3 separate regions of the Homo sapiens genome follow, and regions 2 and 3 are each linked to region 1. The links are contacts of gene promoters, found by promoter capture Hi-C in human tissues and cell types (Jung and others, 2019). All regions are on one chromosome and are shown on one strand. The core of a region is centred on a gene start or on the middle of the fragment in contact, and the rest is flanking DNA. Distances in the headings are between cores, read along the strand shown. Region 1 holds the start of ALDH3A1 (aldehyde dehydrogenase 3 family member A1). Region 2 overlaps ULK2 (unc-51 like autophagy activating kinase 2). Region 3 overlaps SLC47A2 (solute carrier family 47 member 2).

Evidence for each region. Contacts are between HindIII fragments. The study calls those that stand out against the background at their distance.
Region 2: a contact is called between a fragment that was not itself captured here and the fragment with the promoter of ALDH3A1 in region 1, in 4 of the 25 tissues and cell types used here (bladder, mesendoderm cells, pancreas and 1 more).
Region 3: a contact is called between a fragment that was not itself captured here and the fragment with the promoter of ALDH3A1 in region 1, in 3 of the 25 tissues and cell types used here (heart right ventricle, liver and spleen).

What each region holds. Positions count from the first base shown.
Region 1 is chr17:19,746,878-19,749,718 of GRCh38, reverse strand. It overlaps ALDH3A1 (aldehyde dehydrogenase 3 family member A1), which reads left to right and starts at 1,421. Exons shown (of 11, transcript NM_000691.5): 1 at 1,421-1,460. The HindIII fragment of the contact is 25,713 bases long and covers 1-2,841 here.
Region 2 is chr17:19,781,470-19,784,520 of GRCh38, reverse strand. ULK2 (unc-51 like autophagy activating kinase 2) reads left to right here. Exons shown (of 27, transcript NM_014683.4): 22 at 616-824; 23 at 2,454-2,632. Among named protein-coding and RNA genes, the nearest start is that of ALDH3A1, 35 kb to the right of the region's middle. The HindIII fragment of the contact is 9,613 bases long and covers 1-3,051 here.
Region 3 is chr17:19,693,465-19,696,284 of GRCh38, reverse strand. The region is part of intron 13 of SLC47A2 (solute carrier family 47 member 2); the gene reads left to right. Among named protein-coding and RNA genes, the nearest start is that of SLC47A2, 22 kb to the left of the region's middle. The HindIII fragment of the contact is 3,834 bases long and covers 1-2,820 here.

The DNA of each region.
Region 1 (2,841 bases), core at 172-2,671:
CGCCCTGCACCCCCACAGCCAGCCTGGCCCACAGGCCTCCGTGAGCCCCCGCCCCAGGAGAGTCATTCACCTCCACACCTCCTGCTGGCAACAGTGGACACATCGCACTTTTTCGTGACATAACGTTCCCAGCCTCTGTGCCTTTGCTTCTGCTCTTCCAGCCCCCTTGCTGTTCCTTGCCCAAATGCTTCTCACTCAGCTCAGATGATGTTCCCTCCCACGGACTCTCACCCCAGCCCCTCTAGCATCCTCTGCCTACCTGGTTACTACAGTGTTCACATTATTTTGAAATTTCCTGTTTATTTTGTCAGTCAATAAATATTTATTGAGCATCTACTATAAATGCTGTATGGAGGTTACAGCAGTGAACAAATCAAATTCTAGCTGTCAGGAGTTAAGGGACAGGTAGCAAACAAGATATAAACGCTCCAGAGAAAAAATAATGGAGGAAGACGACAGCATTGTGCTATTTTCCACAGCACATTGGAGCGTAGCCGTGTGGGTGGATGTAGGGGAAGGGGGCTCCAGGTGGAGAGAAGCAGGAGGGCCAGAGCACATCCTCAGGACTCGTAGGCCAGGACCGGAACCTTGTGTTTTCCTCGAATGAAATGGGAAGCAGGGACCCCATGCTGGTAAGCAGTCTGCCTGCAGGCGGGTGAGGGTGGCGGGAAGCGCCTGGTGAGAGGGGCCGAGAGTCTGTTCCACACCTGCCTCCTCCCCACAGCGTGGTGCAGAGCAGGAGCCCAGCGAACATTGATCAGACAGCGTGGGAACGGCTTTTCCAGACTCCTTCCTTCCCAAGCATCTCTGGTTTTCGGTGACCACACAGACCCTTGGCCCTCTTCTCAGCTATTCAACGAGAGAGCAGATTTATGGATTGGAGACCCCCATCAAAAGTCCCCAGCCTGTGGCTCCCCAGGGTTAGGATCTCTGACTCAATGGGGCCCTGTGCACACTGGGGGATGTGAAGGGCCCGGGGCAGCGGTGGCTGGGGGTGCGTTTCGGGGGAGCTGCATGCTCTCACTGTGGTTCGTGGCTGAGCCCTGCCGATCTTATGTAACCAGAGAACTCAGAGAACCGCATCTGGCAGCGGCAAGTCTGGAAAGCTGGAAGAGCTCCATGCCAGGCTGAATCAATCAGCAGCCCCCACGCCCAGGGCAAACATAGGCTCTTTTGAAGATTGGAGATGTGCCCTGCCCAAGCCTTCAGAAACATTCTCGCATTTCAGAAGTGAACAAAAGCAAACAGCCCGGGACCTAATCCCCAAAACCTGGGCTGTAGGGAGCAGAGGTCCAGAGGACGCCACACCCCACATTTGAATATTTTTTTTTCTTGTCACGCAAACTTCCTGGGCAGGAACTCCAAGGGCTCAATGGACGGGAAGCAGGGTCCTTAAATACGTCCCCTCTTGGCTCTTGCCGTTCCAGGAGCCCCAGTTACCGGGAGAGGCTGTGTCAAAGGTAATCCTCTTCCCTGCATTCCTTATTTTTTCTCTTGTCTAGGTGGAGTCTGCACTCAGAGCCGGGGCCCTAAGTGTCAAGAGTCCTACATCATCTCTCCAGGGGGTCCCTGCCTCTGGGACCATCATCTCTGGAGCATCCTCCTGGACCTCTGGCAGCTCTGCCATCCCCCAAACCAGGAGGCAGAGGTCCCAGGGATCCGCGGAGCAGGGACACCAAGGTGGCCGTGGAGTGAGAGGCCCTGATGGGCCGTCAGACTCCATGACTGGAAGGAAGGCAGCAGAGCCGAGTGCTAAAGGCATGAGCTGCTGACAGAGATGCATGTGGGTTCAAACCCTGACATGCCACCTGCTAACTGTGAGATCAGATACAGCATTAAACGTTTCTCAGTCTCCCTTTCCTCATCTGTAAAATGCACTCATAACCGTTTCTTCTTCATGGGCATCACTACAGAGCTTTTGTGAGGATGGAAGGCAATGAGGAGGGGAGGAGGTGTCACTGGGGGGCAAAGTCAACACTGGCACAGGTGAGAGGAGCGGGGTGCAGGAATGTGGGGTGTGAGGCGACGGGCTCTGGGGAGGCCCCCAGTGCATGCTGCAGCAGCTCCCATTTGGGTGCAGCTGCGACGTGATGGTGTCCACTCATCTCTGTGAAGTGGCACCTTTGTTAACCTGTCTCTCGGGGAAGTCCTGGGAAGGCCGTCCAGCCCAGAGACCACAGTTCCAAGTGGCGATGCTGGGGTGCAAGGCCAATCCCGTCCCACGCTCACCAGGCTCTTCCCACCTGGGCTGCCTGCCTTGGTTTGACCGTACAAGGCTCGGGAGAGAAGCGGGACCTTCTCTCCTGGGTTGTGGTCAGCAGGAGGGGCCTGGCCCATGGGACTGAGGAGGTCCCAGTGAGGGGGCTTTCCCAGCCTCCTATCAGAACATAGGGAGGGACCATGGAAGGGCCAGGCTTAGAGCACCCTCAATGCCAGCAGGTCCCTCCTCCCTGTGCAGAAAGCCTGGGATTAGGGGTCAGCCTATGGGGAGGGGAGGCAGAGGAAGGATTGGAAGCCACTCGCTGGAATGTAGGCAGGACCATATATCTATATACAATATAATTATATATTACATATGATATATAGGGTTTTTTAAAAAAATGGAAATACCCTATTTCTGCTGATGTTAAAAGTTATGCCGGGTCTGCAAGTGGGCTGAGTATCTCAGGAAGGGGAGTAAGGAACTGGTAACAGTGGCCCCTCTGTGGGGCAGCACCTGACAGCTGATGGAGCAGGGAGGAGGGAGGCAGACTTTTTTCTGTGCCCCTTTGCTATATTTTACATTTTGTTTCATGAGCATGTAGTGCCTATCTTAAAACGCACCAAAATTTAAAAAATACA
Region 2 (3,051 bases), core at 382-2,881, 35 kb before region 1:
AAAAAAAGTATCATGTCCAGTGTTATTGAGGTTTAGTAGGATCTATGTGCTTACTCAGGGCTGCGTTAGAGAGTACTATAACAGTTCTTAGGAAGAGCTGTAAAAATATTTATTGATCTATGCTAATTCCATTCCTTCTTATACCACTTCAGAGTATTTATCACAAAGAAATTATTCAAAAGAAGGAACAACTGTCTGCATTTCATTACAGTGCTATTTGTAATATGAATAAAATCAGAAATAGTATAAATGACTCCAGATAAACATTATATAATATATATAAATTTAATGAATCAGTGCATCCATTGAGTTTTATAATTATGAGGCCCTGTGGAGCAGCAAGGAGAAATGAATATGATCTAAATTTGTTTAAAACAGAGTATAAAAAAACTAGCTCTGATGATGTCTAATATAAAATATATAGACAAGGAATAACAATGAACATGGATAAGTAAAAACTATTAATATCCTCAAATAGTACATAGGGGGTCAGTGAGTTTCTTTTAACGAAACTTTCCTTTGTCACCTCAGCAGGTTTGTTTAGTAAATAAGAGTAGGAGTGGGTGTGAAAGCCCTAACTCTGGACACTGCCATGTATCCTCTGTTTCCTTGTAGTGGGGCCCAGCAACTCCGGGGGCTCTCTTTGTGCCATGAGTGGCCGCGTGTGCGTGGGGTCCCCGCCTGGCCCAGGCTTCGGCTCTTCCCCTCCAGGAGCAGAGGCAGCTCCCAGCCTGAGATACGTGCCTTACGGTGCTTCACCCCCCAGCCTAGAGGGGCTCATCACCTTTGAAGCCCCTGAACTGCCGGAGGAGACGCTGATGGAGGTAGAAAAGAGACTATAGTGGTGTGAATGTAATGTTGATTTGATATGAGAACATTCTAGTGATGACAAGAACAAAATACATTAAATAGTTAGGAAGTTATGTTCTCTTTAACGTGCCTTTTCTGTTTGAAAAGTATTGCTGATGTCTTTTTAAATTAACATTGACAGTGACACTCATCCATAATAAGCTTTGGTTTATAGGAAGAAACACATAGATTCTGTGTTTTTCTTTCTTTCTTTTTTTTTGAGACAGAGTCTTGCTCTGTCACCCAGGCTGGAGTGCAGTGGTGCAATCTCGGCTCACTCCCACCTCTGCCTCCTGGGTTCAAGCAATTCTCCTGCCTCAGCCCCCACGAGTAGCTGGGATTACAGGCACACGCCACCATGCCCGGCTAATTTTTGTATTTTTAGTAGAGACGGGGTTTCACCATGTTGGCCAGGCGGGTCTCGAACTCCTGACCTTGTGATCTGCCCACCTCTGCCTCCCAAAGTGCTAGGATTACAGGCGTGAGCATTCTAGTACATTCTATTGCATGTTCCAGTGTATTGAAACATACAGTGCAATATGCTGTCACAGAGCAGAGAGACTTTTAGAAGTCAATTGGCTTATTCTCCTGTCACTAGGAAAATGATTCTCATCTTTATTTAACCATAAAAGAGTGGGAAACTTTTAGGCTTGAGATTTCAGAATGCATTTATAACTAAAAACAAATCTCAAAACAACAATCTAGAATACCCATTTATTTATTTATTTATTTGTTTGTTTGTTTGTTTGTTTATTTGAGACAGAGTCTTGCTCTGTCACCCAGGTTGGAATGCAGTGGTGCGATCTCAGCTCACTCTAACTTCCACCTCCTGGGTTCAAGCCACTCTCCTGCCTCAGCTTCCTGAGGAGCTGGGACTACAGGCACATGCCACCACGCCCAGCTAATTTTTGTATTTTTAGTAGAGACGGGATTTCGCCATGTTGGCCAGGCTGGTCTCAAACTCCTGACCTCAGGTGATCCACCCGCCTTGGCCTCCCAAAGTGCTTGGATTACAGGCATGAGCCACCATGCCCGGCCTAGAATGCCCATTTTTAAATGACAGCCCTCTGAATGCTGTTATGTCTACCCACACTCCCCTCTTTAACTAACTGAAAAGATCACAGAAAGTTAGAGCTTTGGTATTAGTAATCACTGTTAACTGAAAAACGACCAGAAATTAAATAAAGCAACTCTGAAATTATAAGAAGTCAGCAGAATTCAATACAGTATCAAGAAGTGTGATTTAGCACCTATAGTATCCTTGTAATCTTTGTGTCTACCTTGTCACGTTTTTGTCTCATGTATATTGATTTAATCGTTCAGCTTTCTTTTCTTTTTCTGGTAAAAGCACAGCGACCCATCCTGAGTTTACTTATGTGGGTACTCTGATACACATACACAAACACATGCATATACCTATATTTGGTTTCATTTGTGTTCATTTTCTTACCAGCTTTCTGAAATTTAAAAATTTCAATCTCCTTTTGTCATTCTGATACTCATAAGTATAGAAAACATGATCAGCGGCCATGGTTTATGTACAGAAATGAGTATGTACGTATTTTTAATCTGAAATTTTCTAAGACAAATTGACTTTGCTGCAGCGGGAACACACAGACACCTTACGCCATCTGAATGTGATGCTGATGTTCACTGAGTGTGTGCTGGACCTGACAGCCATGAGGGGAGGAAACCCTGAGCTGTGCACATCTGCTGTGTCCTTGTACCAGATCCAGGAGAGTGTGGTGGTGGACCAGATCAGTCAGCTGAGCAAAGACTGGGGGTGGGTGCCCCCTTGTCATTCATTTCCAGACTTTTCATGCTTTGTCTAAACTTGTGTCTAAGTTGTAGGTATTGTCATCCACTGAAGATCATATCTCATTATTAAAAGCTAGGAGTCTCAATTATTTCTTTGTACTACATTTCACTATATGAGCCAAGACCTGGAGATTATGCAACCTCAGTGTTGCCTTTCCTTGTAAATTATACTGTTGAAGTTCTTTTGTGTAAATAGATTGTATTGATTTTTATCTGAGTGTATCCGTTATTTTCACAGTACACACATCTTTAACTATGCCTTGTCCCTTGAGAGTTTACTTGTGCATTAAGAAATTAAGGAGGGCTGGTCGCAGTAGCTTATGCCTATATGTAATTCCAGCACTTTGGGAGGATGGGGCAGAAGGATTGCTTGAGCCCATGGGT
Region 3 (2,820 bases), core at 84-2,583, 53 kb after region 1:
GAAATGGGGTTTCACCATGTTGGCCAGGATGGTCTTGATCTCCTGATCTCATGATCTGCCCACCTCGGCCTCCCAAAGTGCTGGGATTACAGGTGTGAGCCACCGCACCAGGCCCAAATTCCCTCTTTTAATAAGGACACCAGTCATATTGGATTAGGGCCTACCTTAATGACTCCATCTTAACTTGATCATCAGCAAAGGCCTTATTTCCAAATAAGGTAACATTCACAGGTACTGAGAGTTAGAATTTCAACATCTTTTGGCCAGACACAGTGGCTCACACCTGTAATCGCAGCACTTAGGGAGGCTGAGGTGGCAGATCACCTGAGGTCAGGAGTTCAAGACCAGCCTGGCCAAAATGGTGAAACCCCCATCTCTACTAATAATACAAAAATTAGCTGGGCGTGATGGCACACACCTGTAATCCCAGCTACTCAGGAGGCTGAGGCAGGAAAATTGCTTGAACCTGGGAGGTGGAAGTTGTAGTGAGCCAAGGTTGTGCCATTACACACCAGCCTAGATGACAAGAGCGAAACTCCACCTTAAAAAAAAAAAAAGGAATTTCAGTATCTTTTGTGGGAGACACAATTCAACCCATAACATTTATTATTAGTTATAAGAGTTCTTTATATATTCTGGATACAAGTCCTTTATCAAGCTTTATGATTTGCAAACCCAGGCTGTGGCTTATCTTTTTAAATTAAATTTTATTTTTTAAATTCACAGATAAATATATTTATGGTATACATTTTTTCTTTTTTTTTTTTTTGCTGTTTTTTTTTTTTGTTCTTTGTTTTTTTTTTAAGACAGGTCTCACTCTGTTGCCCAGGCTGGAGTGCAGTTGGCACCATCATAGCTCACTACAGAACTCCTGGGCTCAGACCATTCTCCCACCTCAGCCTCCCAAAGTGCTGGGATTACAGGCATGAGCCAATGCACCCAGCCACTATGTTTGTATATATGTAAACATTTCACTATGTTTAGACATTGTGAAATGGCTAAATCAAGCTAATTAACATATGCATTACCTTACATAATTCTAATTTTCTTGTGGTGAGAACATTTAAAATATACTATTACCAATTTTCAAGTATACAATAGTTAACATGTTGTACAGTAGGTCTCTTAAACTTTTTCTTCCTGTCTAACTGAATCATTTTCTTAATGGTATCTTTTGAGTTGCAAAAGTTTTCACTTTCAATGTAGTCCAATTTCTTAATTTCTTTTATGGCTCATGCTTTTGCTATTTTATATATAAGAACTCTGCCTAACCCAAGGTCACAAAGATTTTCTCCTCTGTTTTCTTTAAAAAGTTTTAATGTTAAGTCTTTCTTACATTTAGGTTTATGATCCTTTTTTTTTTTTTTTTGAGATGGAGTCTTGCTCTTTTACCCGGGCTGGAGTGCAGTGGCACAATCTGGGCTCACTGCAACCTCTGCCTCCCGGGTTCAAGCGATTCTTCTGCCTCAGCCTCCTGAGTAGCTGGGACTACAGGTGTGTGCCACCTCGTCCGGCTAATTTTTGTATTTTTAGTAGAGATGGGGTTTCACCATGTTGGCCAGGCTGGTTTCGAATTCCTGACCTCGTGATCCACCCGCCTTGGCCTCCCAAAGTGCTGGGATTACAGGTGTGAGCCACAGCGCCTGGCCTCTGATCCATTTTTAGTTCATTTTTGTGTATAATATGAGGTAAGGGTTTAAATTCATTTTTTACATATGGATATCCAATTGTCCTGGCACCATTTGTTAGCACATGAAAGACTCATTTCTCCAGTACTAAGTTTCTTGGAAACACAGTTGAAAATCAACTGACCATAAATGTAGTGGTTTACTTCTGAATTCACAATTCCGTTCCATTGATTTATGTCTATGCTATGCCATTGTGACAGTCTTAATTACTGTAGCTTTACAGGGAGTTTTGTAATCAGGTACTATTAATATACCAACTGTTCTTTTCTGTCCCCAAACTCTTTTGACTCTTTTAGGTCCTTTGCATTTTTGTATGTATTTTAGAATCAGCTTATCAATTCCTACTAAAAAGCATGCTGAGATTTTGAAAAGAATTGTGTTGAATCTATAGATCAATTTGGACAGAACTGTCATCTTAACAATATTGAGGCCTCCAATCCATGGGCACAGAATGTCTCTAGTTATTTAGAACTTCTTTATCTCGGCAATGTTTTATAGTCTTCAATGGACAAATCTTATACTTCTTTTGTTAAATTTATCCCAAAGAATTTTATTCTTTGGATGCTACTGTGAATGAAATTGTTTTCTTAATTTCATTTTAGATTGTTCATGTTTATAAAAAATCAATTGATTTTTTGATTATTGATCCTTTATCCTGTGACCTTGTTCTAATAGTTTGTGTGTCTGAGCTCCTTAAGATTTTCTACATGTAGGATCATGTCATCTGTGAATAGACACTTTTACTTCTGCTTTCCAATTTGGGGAGAACCTCCAATACAATGTTGTTTTGTTTTGTTCTGAGACGGAGTCTCGCTCTGTCGCCCAGGCTAGAGAGCAATGGCGCGATCTTGGCTCACTGCAAGCTCCGCCTCCCAAGTTCAAGCGAGTCTCCTGCCTCAGCCTCCCAAGTAGCTGGGACTACAGGCACGCAACTCCGTGCCTGGCTAATTTTTATTTATTTATTATTATTATTATTATTATTATTTTTAGTAGAGACGGGGTTTCACCATTGGCCAGGGTGGTCTCCAACTCCTGACCTAAGGTGATCCACCCTCCTCAGCCTCCCAAAGTGCTGGGTTTACAGGTGTAAGCCACTGTGCCCAGCTCTCCAGTACAATGTTGAATCCAAGTG